Linked DNA regions of Homo sapiens: region 1 is linked to region 2. The links are contacts of gene promoters, found by promoter capture Hi-C in human tissues and cell types (Jung and others, 2019). All regions are on one chromosome and are shown on one strand. The core of a region is centred on a gene start or on the middle of the fragment in contact, and the rest is flanking DNA. Distances in the headings are between cores, read along the strand shown.

Evidence for each region. The method cuts DNA at HindIII sites, captures the fragments that hold promoters and counts their contacts. A contact is called where the count stands out against the background at its distance.
Region 1: a contact is called between a fragment that was not itself captured here and the fragment with the promoter of DCTN3 in region 2, in 3 of the 25 tissues and cell types used here (dorsolateral prefrontal cortex, lymphoblastoid cells and spleen).

What each region holds. Positions count from the first base shown.
Region 1 is chr9:34,090,821-34,096,327 of GRCh38, forward strand. It overlaps DCAF12 (DDB1 and CUL4 associated factor 12), which reads right to left. Exons shown (of 9, transcript NM_015397.4): 7 at 2,466-2,628. Among named protein-coding and RNA genes, the nearest start is that of DCAF12, 33 kb to the right of the region's middle. The HindIII fragment of the contact is 6,258 bases long and covers 207-5,507 here.
Region 2 is chr9:34,618,843-34,625,158 of GRCh38, forward strand. DCTN3 (dynactin subunit 3) reads right to left here and starts at 1,653. Exons shown (of 7, transcript NM_007234.5): 1 at 1,527-1,653. The coding sequence starts at 1,622. ARID3C (AT-rich interaction domain 3C) reads right to left here. Exons shown (of 8, transcript NM_001017363.4): 4 at 5,022-5,205; 5 at 4,583-4,872; 6 at 3,505-3,687; 7 at 3,178-3,267; 8 at 2,207-2,716. The coding sequence ends at 2,616. RefSeq lists an enhancer at 5,352-5,900. The HindIII fragment of the contact is 3,867 bases long and covers 1-1,722 here.

The sequences.
Region 1 (5,507 bases), core at 2,086-4,585, 530 kb before region 2:
ATTTTGTTTGTATTTTTAGTAGAGACAGGGTTTCACCATGTTGATCAGGCTGGTCTCGAACTCCTGACCTCAGGTGATCCACCTGCCTCAGGCTCCCAAAGTGCTGGGATTACAGGCATCAGCCACCGTGCCCGGCCCTATTTATTCCTTTCTCTACTACTCTCATTATACATTATTCTTTGTTCTAAAATGTAAGCATTTTAACTATAATTAAGAACAAATAGGCCAGGCGTGGTGGCTCAAGCCTGTAATCCCAGTACTTTGGGAGGCCCAAGGTGAGTGGATCACTTGAGGTCAGGAGTTCAAAACCAGTCTGGCCAACATGGTGAAACTCCATCTCTACTAAAAACACAAAAATTAGCTGGGCATGGTGGTACGCGCCTGTAGTCCCAGCTACTCAGGAGGCTAAGGCAGGAGAATCGCTTGAACCTGGGAGGCAGAGGGTGCAGTGAGCTGAGATCACACCACTCCACTCCAGCCTAGGTGACAGAGCAAGACTCATCTCAACAACAACAACAACAAAAAAGAAATAGCTGGGCACAGTGGCTCACGGCTGTAATCCCTGTAATCTTAGCACACACTTTGGGAGGCTGAGGTGGGTGTCCCAAGAGTTTGAGACAACTCTGGGCAACATGATGAGAACCTGTCTCTACAAAAATACAAAAATTAGCTGAATGAGGTGGCGGACGCTTATAGTCCCAGCTACTCGGGAGGCTGAGGTGGGAGGACTGCTTGAGCCTGGCAGGTGGAAAAGCTGCAGTGAACTGAGATTGCACCACTTTCCTCCAGCCTGGCTGATAGAGTGAGGACCCTGTCTTCAAAAAAAAAAAAAAAAAAAAAACCACAAAAAACCCAAAACAAAAGCTACTTTGCAGTATCTGCACAGGAATAAACACTACTTGAAAAAGAGAGGGTGAACTGCAATCCACAGTGTGCCTTTTAGGACTCTCAGGATAACACAGCCATATTTTTGCATGAGAAATGGGATAAAGCGAGAAATGGGATAAAGTGAGATAAAGAAAATACAATTTGTTAAGTTGGATTCTGGTCCCTAGCTGTTCCCCCATCAAGCTGTGTGATGCTGGGCAAGTTATTTAGCTGGCTCTAGGTCTTATATGTAAAACTATGTTTTCTCATCTGCTTCCCACAGGGTTCTTGGTATGATGAAATGGCATGTCAGAAAAAGGTATTTTGAAACCTTCAAAGTACACTAAAATAAGTATTTTTTCCCTCTTCAATAAAGAATGAGGGTGCTCTTACAGAGAATATGTTATAAAAGATTTGAGGTGGAAGCTTAATTTACTCAGTGGTCAGAACTAAACTCAGTATTTTCTTCAGCCTTATTGAGGTTTGTCATACAATATACGACACATAAAGTATACAATTTGAGGTTCTGACATATGTATATATCCATGACATCATAACCACAATCTACATAATGAACATACTCATTACCCTGAGGTTTCCTCATGCCCTTTGTAAACTTCCTCCTTATCCCACCATGCCACATCTTAGCATAAATAGAATTTTAGTTCAGGCAGGACCACAGCAAAAAAATTACCACAGGATAGAAAGTAGGGCTCTCGGCCAGGTGCAGTGGCTCACGCCTGTAATCTCAGCACTTTGGAAGGCCGAGGTGGGTGGATCACAAGGTCAAGAGATCAAGGCCATCCTGGCCAACATGGTGAAACCCCGTCTCTACTAAAAATACAAAAATTAGCTGGGCGTGGTGGTGTGTGCCTGTAGTCCCACCTACTCGCGAGGCTGAGGCAGGAGAATCACTTGAACTCAGAAGGCAGAGGTTGCAGTGAGCTGAGATCACGCCACTACACTCCAGCCTGGCAAAAGAGCGAGACTCTGTCTCAAAAAAAAAAAACAACAACAACAAAAAAAAAGTAGAGCTTTCTAAAAGAACATGGAAACTACTAACTAATATCCTGACTGGTGGCTCCCAACAAAGGCTTCTGTGGCCACACATTTGTCTGTGGTGTTTGAAAGTCTAGTGCCCTTTTGTGTCACTCCCCCCACACCCCTTTTTTTTTGAGACAGAATTTCGCGCTCATTGCCCAGGCTGGAGTGCAATGGTGCGATCTCAGCTCACCGCAACCTCCGCCTCCCAGGTTCAAGCAATTCTCCTGCCTCAGCCTCCTGAGCAGCTGGGATTACAGGCATGCGCCACTGCGCCCGGCTAATTTTGTATTTTTAGTAGAGACGGGGTTTCTCCATATTTATTGGTCAGGCTGATCTCAAACTCCCGACCTCAGGTGATCCACCCGCCTCGGCCTCCCAAAGTGCTGGGATTACAGGCGTAAGCCACCACGCCTAGCCATCGCTCCCCTTTTTGAACACACTTCCAAATGTTCCATACAGAGCACTATACCTGTTTGGAAACCAACAAAGAAACTGAAAGTCAGAACCCATATGCAGTGCAGCTGTAGGCCTGAGGTGCACACAGGGACTCTTACCACTGCCTCGCTCCCTGGAACAGACAGACTTGACGTTGTATGATGGCTGCCGTGGATCCAAGAAGGAGACATGAGCTTGGGAGCCCACTGCATAAACTGACCATTCACTACCATAAGCCAGACACACATTCTCACGGCAATATGGCAGTTTGGTGGAGAGGAGCTGAAAATAGAGGAGAGATATAACCATGGCATCAGCAGAGAGGGTAAGGCAGGGATATTGTTTCTGGACTCCCACCTTGATGGGCTTCCCTCATATAAAAGCCACATAAAATCAAGCCCTGATTACAGAAATAACACTCTGTTCCACCCCTAGGTATACAGGAGAAAGAGGAGGTGAATGTTAATAAACGGTAAGACCTAGATACTGAAGGAGATAGGTTGGGGAAAAGGTAAATCTGGAATAAATAATCAGAAGTAGCTGGAAAGGCCAAGGCCTTTCTTGGTAGGCTGTTTCAACTATTCAGGTTGTTTCTGGGAATCGTTCCAGGGCACTAAAGCCATAGTCCCACTCTGTTCTGTCTGCCAGGAAGGGCCACCTCAGTGCTTTTCAGATAAAGAGGCTGATCTCTGGCTACCCCCAGCTCACCTTCCCACCTGAATGGGAATTGTACGCTATAGAAAGCACGCCCATGGGACTAGCTTAATCCCAGATAACCCACATCAGCCTTAACCCTGGGTCTTCGTCAGTTAGCAAATCCTCAGTGGGTGCATACAACACATAAGACAGCATACAAGGTCAGTGGAGCTCAAAGGCTATTGTGACATGAAGGAATCACTAATTCCTGGAACCCTGCTTCCTCTTGCAAAGTCCTCAAGGATAAGAAGAAGAGAAAAAGCTGGGCGTGGTGGCTAACGTCTGTAATCCCAGCACTTTGGGAGGCTAAGGCAGGCAGATCACCTGAGGTCAGGAGTTTGAGACCAGGCTGGCCAACCTGGTGAGATGCCATCTCTACTAAAAATACCAAAAATTAGCTAGGGGTAGTGGTGCATGCCTGTAATCCCAGCTACTCAGGAGGCTGAGGAAGGAGAATCACTTGAACCTGGGAGGCGGAGGTTGCAGTGAGCTGAGATCGTGCCACTGCATTCTAGCCTGGGCAACAAAGTGAGACTCTGTCTCAAAAAAAATAAAAAAAAGACAAATGATTCACAGGTAGGTTTAACTCTATGTAAAAGTTGCTTGTTGAATCTCCCTTATCCAAAAGGCTTGTGACTACAAATGTTTTGAATTTCGGATTTCTCCAGCTTTTTTTTTTTTTTTTTGAGACGGAGTCTCGCACTGTCGCCCAGGCTGGAGTACAGTGGCGCGATCTCAGCTCACTGCAAGCTCCACCTCCTGGGTTCACACCATTCTCCTGCCTCAGCTTCCCGGGTAGCTGGGACTACAAGCGCCCACCACCACGCCCGGCTAATTTTTTGTATTTTTAGTAGAGACGGGGTTTCACCATGTTAGCCAGGATGGTCTCAATCTCCTGACCTTGCGATCCGCCCACCTTGGCCTCCCAAAGTGCTGGGATTATAGGCGTGAGCCACCGCACCCGGCCCCGATTTTTAAATATCTACATATATGTAAGGAGCTATCTTGGGGATGGCACCCAAGTCTAACCACAAAATTCATTTATGTTTCATATACATCTTATACACATAGAGTGAAGGTAATTTTATGCAATATTTTAAATAATTTTCTGCATTAAACAATGTTTGGTACACTGACCTGTCAGAAAGCAAAGGTGTCCCATGTGAAATTTTCCATTTGTGGCATTGTGTTGGTGCTCAAAAAGTTTTGGACTTTGGAGGCTTTTTTTTTTGAGAGAGAGTCTTGCTCTGTTGCCAGGCTGGAGTGCAGTGGCATGATCTCGGCTCACTGCAACCTCTGCCTCCTGGGTTCAAGCGATTCTCCTGCCTCAGCCTCCCAAGTATCTGGGACTACAGACGCCCACCACCACGCCCAGCTAATTTTTGTATTTTTAGTAGAGACGGGGTTTCGCCATGTTGGCCAGCATGGTCTCAATCTCTTGACCTCATGATCCACCTGCCTCGGCCTCCCAAAGTGCTGGGATTATAGGCGTGAACCACCGCGCCAGGCCTTTTTTTTTTTTTTTTTTTTTTTTTTGAGATAGGGTCTCGCTCTGTCACCCAGGCTGGAGTGCAGTGGCAAAATTACGGCTCACTGCAGCCTTGACCTCCTCAGCTCAAGTGGTCCTCCTGCCTCAGCACTGCTACCCTCCAGTAGCTGGGACTACAGGCATATGCCACAATGTATGGCTAATTTTTAAATTTTGTTGCAGAGATAGGGTCTTACTGTGTTGCCCAGGCTAGTTTTGAACTCCTGGGCTCAAGCAATCCTCCTGCTTCAACCTCCCAAAGTGTTGGGATTACAGGCCTAAGGTATTGTGCCCAACTGGATTTTGGAGCATTCTGGATTAGGGATGACCAATTTGTATTGTAAATTAAGTCTATTTTCTCATTACCTTACATGATTATTTCAGAGATGGTTTATCTTAATTTGATCGATCTTCAATTGCCAAAGGTTCCTAACACTCAGGATTTCCTTCCCTTACAGCATGCCAAGTAGTCATCAATCTATAAAGAAATACTTAAATGCATTGTTGAGGAGGACTGCTAGTCAAAGGAGCCTCTCAGGAAGCTTATGCAATAGGAAAGAATCACCCTGTCTTACTCTTTAAAAGACTTTCCTGCAAGAGAGGCACACCAGACTCAAAATTTCATGTACTGTGCAAAAACATGCCCAGGCCTTTGGAGAACTGGTCTTTTAAACAAGAATTGAGACCAGGTGCAATGGTTCATGCCTGAATGCCCAGCACTTCGGGAGACCAAGGTGGGAGGATCGCTTGAGGTCAGGAGTTCAAAACCAGCCTGGGAAACATAGTGAGACTCTGTCTCTACAAAAAATTAAAAAAACAAAACAAAACAAAAAAAACAACCAGATGGGTGTGGTGACACATGCCCATAGTCTCAGCTACTTGGGAGGCTGAGGCAAGAGGATCGCTTATGCCCAGGAGTTCAAGGCTGCACTGATCC
Region 2 (6,316 bases), core at 403-2,902:
ACTCTCAAACCTGAATCCCAGTAATCTAGGTTGGCCTCCCTTCTCTAATATTAAAGGAGATGCAGCCCCACCTTCCAGGAATCCTTAAAGTGGAGAGAGAGAATCATGTACTCCTTGGGGAGTTTCAAGTCTGATGGGGAAGATAACGAACTATTTTAGAGTCTATGGAATATAGAGTATACACAATATATTTTCTGGTTCCTAAGTCCTGGGTTTGGGCATGAGAAACACAAGCATCCTCATTCAAGCCTTCATGACCTCTAGATTGGCTGGCCTACCTCTAGCCCTATCCCCTCCACATCAAATTTGGTGTGGGAGATGGAAGAGTCCAAACAACTGGGATCCCAATGATGGTGCAATCACTGAATTAGGGAATACAGAAGAGAATCAGGTTAGGGGAGAGAAAGAGTACAGTTAAGGGCATACAGATTGAGTTTGAAATGACTATTGGATATCCAAGTGGAAAAGTCCAGTAGACAACTAGACATAAAAGTCTGGTTCTCAGAACAGAAATCTGGACCAGAGATATACATTTGAGACATATTGACATGTAAATAGTAATTGACACCATGGAAGCGAGTGAGCCTACCTAAAGTTTAGGGGTAGAATGTAAAGAATCCCAATATTAAAGGGTCAAATAGAGGAGGAGACTAAGGAAGTGACTGCACTCACCCAGTTTTTAGGGTAGAGGATGAGGAATGCCAGGGGGGAGGCAAATAACACTGAGAAGCAGCCGTAAGAGGTAGAAGGAAAACCAGGAGGGTCAGCGTCATAGATCCCAAAGGAAGAGAATGTTTGAGAAGTTAGTTCTGAAATGGGAGCACAGTCTGCTAGTGACAACTAATTCCTCATTTAGTGTACAAACAGACATCATTACCTTGGACGCACTTAGCTCCAGGACATGCCTGACACGCCATCAGAAGTTCTTCAATAAAAGATCTTCCCATAGTAGAAAGGGGAGGAGAGGGCACCTGAGCTTCGTAGTTGTCAAAATTCTGTCACTGGTATAAAGCAGTGCTAGTCCACATCTGAATACCCAGTACCCAGTCTCTTCCCTTCCTAATCCTGGTCCTTTCAGACCTCACTTCTCACCCTTTGGCGTTTTCCTTATCCACCTCTGCTCTGCCTCCCCAGGGGTCCCATGGACCTCTTCCTGCACAATTCATTTAGCAATTAATTATGCAGGGCTCTATGACGGGCCTTCCTATCGTGGACTTCAGCTCTTATTGAAACTCTCATTAGTCAGCTTCTCGTGTCAGGTCTCCCCAACTATAGCTCGCGAGGGCAAGGGCGGAGTCTCAGCTACAGTAGGTACGGAGCCCACTCTCAGGCTGGCTTAACCACCCGCAGAGCCCCCTATGACAGTGGACCCCGATGGTCCAATCAGCTCTGGGAGGTCCCGGACCTTTGTTATTTCAAAGGCCGGGCTGCGGAGAACAGGACTGGAGCGGTTGCATCCCGAGGGCCAGGACAGTGGACCGCTCTTGCTCTGCTCCAGAAAGGGACTACCGGACCAGACTACTCACCTTCCGTGAGCCGCGCGCCCCGCCCGGCCCGTACACCCAGCGCTCCAGCTCTTCCACTCGGGCCTGTAGCCGCTGCAAGTCAGTCAGACCCGCCATCGCTACTACCGACCCACCTCGGCCAGGAAACAGCCAGAGGGCGGGACGTCAGTCCAAATAAGAAGGCTAGCCAATCCGAGTGCACGAGCGGCCCTTTATGCAGGAAGTGACGCCATGATTCAGCCCTTCAGTGCCGGAAGTTACTCCTCGGAGCTGTCAAAAGCTGATTACCTTGGCAACGGCTCTGTCCCATCCCTCCCCTGGCTTCCAGTGCCTGGTTGTCAAGATAACCTTTGCTTTTCGGGTACCAAAGAGCTTTCCCCACGCCATTCCCTGAGTTTGCACGTGTTCCAGGATAGGTCCATTCCCATAGATACATCATTAGGAGGCTCCGTGAGTTACCATAAACTTTTGGAGTCTTCTAAGGTTCAGTTGATTAAGTAACTTGCCCAAGGCCACCCAGCACTATAGGGACAGAAACAGGACTTGAACTCAGGCTGTCTGATTCAAGAGACGGAGCTCTTCTATTCTCACGAAACTTTGCTATTCTGCCTTAACCTCTGAAAGCCCCTGGCCCAAGGCAGCCTATGTTCCACATCATTCCTCCCCACCTCCCATACCCAAACAAGAAAGGAGGCATCAGAGAGGGAGGGACCGCAGCTTTATTGTCTAGATGTGACCTGAGGGATGTCTCTTTCACAGTACCCCAACCCAACCTTTCACTTGGCTCCTGAAGAGAAGCAGGGCTGACTCAAAAGGGTAGGGTCCTAGAGATGACATTGACAGAGGGAACACATGAGGAGATGATGGGGTTACTGGAGGAAGAACCCTTTGGTAGGTGCTGCTGGAATTGGCCAGGGAGGAGGTGCCCTCCCTTTACAATGAGGTAGGTGTAACATCAAAAGAAACTTTGGTTTTAAGTCCACATGGCATGGGAGGTGTCGTCCCCTCCCAGGGCTGGGTCCCAGAGTGGGCAGCCAGAAAGAATCAAAGCAGGGGGTCTCCTCCCCCCTCAGCAATGGGGCTGGGACTCTTAGTTTCAAGTAGGACCTCTCAGGGCAAGATGCTGGAAGGGGGCCCTGTGGAGGGTGGGGGTGCAGGGTTGGTTGGACCCTGGGAAGCTGGCACAGGCTGGCGGCGGGCAAAGAGGACACCTGGCAAAGGGGTGAGGAGATGGTAGAGGGCAAAAACAAGCAGGAGGGGGTAGGGTATGGAAACAGAAGAGGGGAACAAAAGTAAGTGTTCTGGTTGCTAGAACACTACACACGTACCCCTGCCACAAACCAATGAGGACAAGCTCCTTGGGTCAGTAAGAGACTCCATTGCTAATGTAGATACCTCAAACAGGTAAACAAGGAATATTTATGCTGATACATAGGCCCAAGACAAGGCAGACATCCCCTGGTACTCATGCCAGAGAGGTCATGCCTTGGATCCCATGCCATGTAGACACCCCCTTTAACCCATGCCAGTCTAGCAATCCCCTGAACTCCATGTTACTCATGCAAGTTTAGATATCCCTGAACTTCATGCTAGTAGAGGAAGTCTAAAATCCCCATGCCAGCCTAAATACCCCTGACCCCATGCCAGTGTAGACAGCCTGCAGTACCCATACCAGTGTAGACCACCCCGTTGATCTCTAGGGCCATGTTGATACTGCTGATGCCACTGCCTGCCAGATTAAGAGGCCCATCCAGCCGCTCTTCTGTCCAGGAGGGGGCAGAGGAATCACATTTTGGAGAATCAGACTTCTGACTTATTAATAGAATTTCCCCCCTCCATCCCCGTAGACAGCCCCCATTCCACTTCAGCCCCACACCTATACTCACACAGTTGTCTACAGAGGAATCTGTCTGCCCCGTCTCTAACACCTATCAGGTGATGGGTCAATCCTCCCTCAGTGTACAGTCCCGAAGCCCCCTCACAACAAGCCCCTCCTCACCCCTCAGGGGAACCTTGCCACGGGGCAGGAAACTGGGGGGCATGCAAGGTCGAGGTGGGTCCATAGGCCCCATCAGCACAGCTCTCTTCTCTGGGGGCTCCTCTGGTGCCAATTTCTCCCGTGTAGGTCCCAGTGCCAGGCCCACAGGCAGTGCCAGACAAGGGTTTGGAATTCCACTCTCCTCTAGAAGAACAGGTTATTCAGCTCCCCTGGCCAAACCAACCCATCTCTGCATTGGTTCTCCCCCAGGCCTGGGACCAAAAGAGGTAACTCAAGCTCATGTACCAATCTCTCATCCTTCATTCGATCTATCTTCCCATCCAGAGCCTCAGCCTGGAAGCGCTGAAGCTTTTCTCTAGAGCCCAAAGGATCAAGGTACATGTCTAGACAATTTGGGGGATTGTTTTTGGCTGTTGGTTATTAAATAATCCAGGTCACAAGAGGCACAAACTATATGCAAATAGGAGCACTGGGTGGACATGTGTGGAATGGAGTTGCTGTGATTAAAGGACCTTTTCCTGGCCGGGCGCGGTGACTCAGCCTGTAATCCCAACACTTTGGGAAGCGGAGGAGGGCGGATCACGTGGTCAGGAGATCGAGACCATCCTGGCTAACACGGTGAAACCCCGTCTCTACTAAAAATACAAAAATTAGCCGGGCATGGTGGCGGGCCCCTGTAGTCCCAGCTACTCGGGAGGCTGAGGCAGGAGAATCGCTTGAACCCGGGAGGCGGAGGTTGCCGTGAGCTGAGATCGCGCCACTGCACTCCAGCCTGGGCGACGGAACGAGACTCCGTCTCACAAAAAAAAAAAAAAAAGAAAAAAAGAAAAAAAAGGACCTTTTCCTGAACTTCAGCCCCTACACTTCAGTAACCCGTACCCCAGAGCTCTCATTTGGCCGCAAACCTCAGGACCCCTAAACCTTAGTGACCCCCAAACCTCAGAAGCCCGTCAGACCTTACTGCTCCCATACCTCAATGCCTCCCCAGACCTCAATCCTCACATTTTAATGGTTGCTATATCTTAGCGCCCACCTAAACCTCAGAGACCCCGAAACCTCTACCATTCTCCCCTCGCACCTTTCTTAATAGGGCTTGGACTCAGCTGAGCGCATGCATGCGCTGGCAGGCCGGAGGTGGAACCCTGGGCTGGGCCAGGGCTGGACTGGGTCGCCGGAGGGGCGGGGCCGGGACCCAAGGCTGGGTCCTGAGCGCCCCGAGGGGGCGGCCCTGCCAAGCCGAAGAGCGGAGTAGCGGTGTAAGCCTGGCGACGGCCCTCGCGCCGATTGCTGTCTATGGCGGCCTGGAGCTCCCCTGGGGAGCTGAGCGCTCGAGTCTCGCACTCGTACGGGTACAGGTACTTCATGTACCTAGGGGCGGACAGCGGGCGGTGAGTGTATGGGAGGCTGCACCCAGCTGGTCAAGTCCCACAGCCGGACGCCCGCCCGGGGACCCTCCCCCCTCCCGCCCCAGGCCGAACCCGTGCCCCCTTCCCTTCCGCTCCCGCCCCTGGCCTCACTGGGTGCGTAGAGTGAAGGCGGCCGAGGTGATGGTGGTGGGTAGGCTGAGGCCGCGCGTGACTTCCCGCCACACTTTGCGGTTGATGACTTCCACCAGGCCGCCCTTGGCGGTCACCAGGCGAAACAGAGCGTACAGGTCGAGCACCTGCTTCGCCATGATGGGCACGCGGTTCACTGGCGTCCCTGGTGGGGAGCGGGCTGCCGTCAGGACACTGAGACGAAGACCCTGTCTGCAGCATCCCCAGGGACTGATACAGGACGGGAGCCCCGGGGAGGGCGGGAAAGAGGGAGACTTGGGCGGAGCCCACAGAACCCCAGGGTCTCTGTTTTAGCAAGAAGGACAGGAGGCTAGAACGGGGGGGGGCAAAGTTCTGTAAAAGGCCAGATGGCTAAATGGTCTCTGTCACAACTACTCAACGCTGTCATTGTAGCCTAAAGGCGGCCATAGAGAATACCTGAAGGAATGGATGCGGCTGTGTTCCAATAATATAGACTCTGAAATTCGAATTTCACCAGTCTGGAGATGTTATTCATCTTTAAATTTTGTCCCCCAACTATTTAAACAAGTAAAAACCATTCTTATCTTGCAGGCAGCTGGGTTTGGCCTGCAAACTTTAGTTTGCTGTCCCCTGGGGTAGACCGCAGGAAGGACTTTCGGACAGTGCTGAAGAGCCGGCCTCCCCTAAGCAGCAGCCCCCGGGTGGCTGCCCAAGGCTGGGGGATGACGGGCGGGAAAAGAATCAACTCCCGCCTCGGCCCGCCGACTCCGCAGCCCGCGCCGCCCCCGCCGGCCAGTCCTGACAAAGGGGCCTGTCTGCGCTGAGCGATGGGCCCCAGTTAATTCCTTACCGATCCCGTCCCCTTCCGCCGCGCCTTTGGACCCGAACAATTAGCTGCGGCCTGATTAATGGGGGAAAATTATCGGCCCCGCGGGACCCCCTCCCCCTGCAGCTGGAGCGGTGGGAGGCAGGGACCGAAGGGAGGCAGGCAATGCTGGGATCGGTTCACACCCGCTACCCCAGTGGAGGGGAGGCCTCGAGGAAGGGCCAGAGAGGGAACACTGGAACCAGAATGGGCCTCCCTGGGAACCAAAAGGACTTAGGTCCCTACTGAGGGTCCCTGGGAAGGTAAGGGACCAGAAAGAGGTGCTGGGGTGAGGGCCGGGAGTGGGAAGTGGGCCAGCAGCTGCACTAAAGGCGGTGGGGGGGCGGGGGGTAACAGGGCAGCCAGTTAATTAGCGGCTTATCAGGCTGCGCTCTGAGTGAGTTAATTAGCTTTGCAGAGAGAGATAATG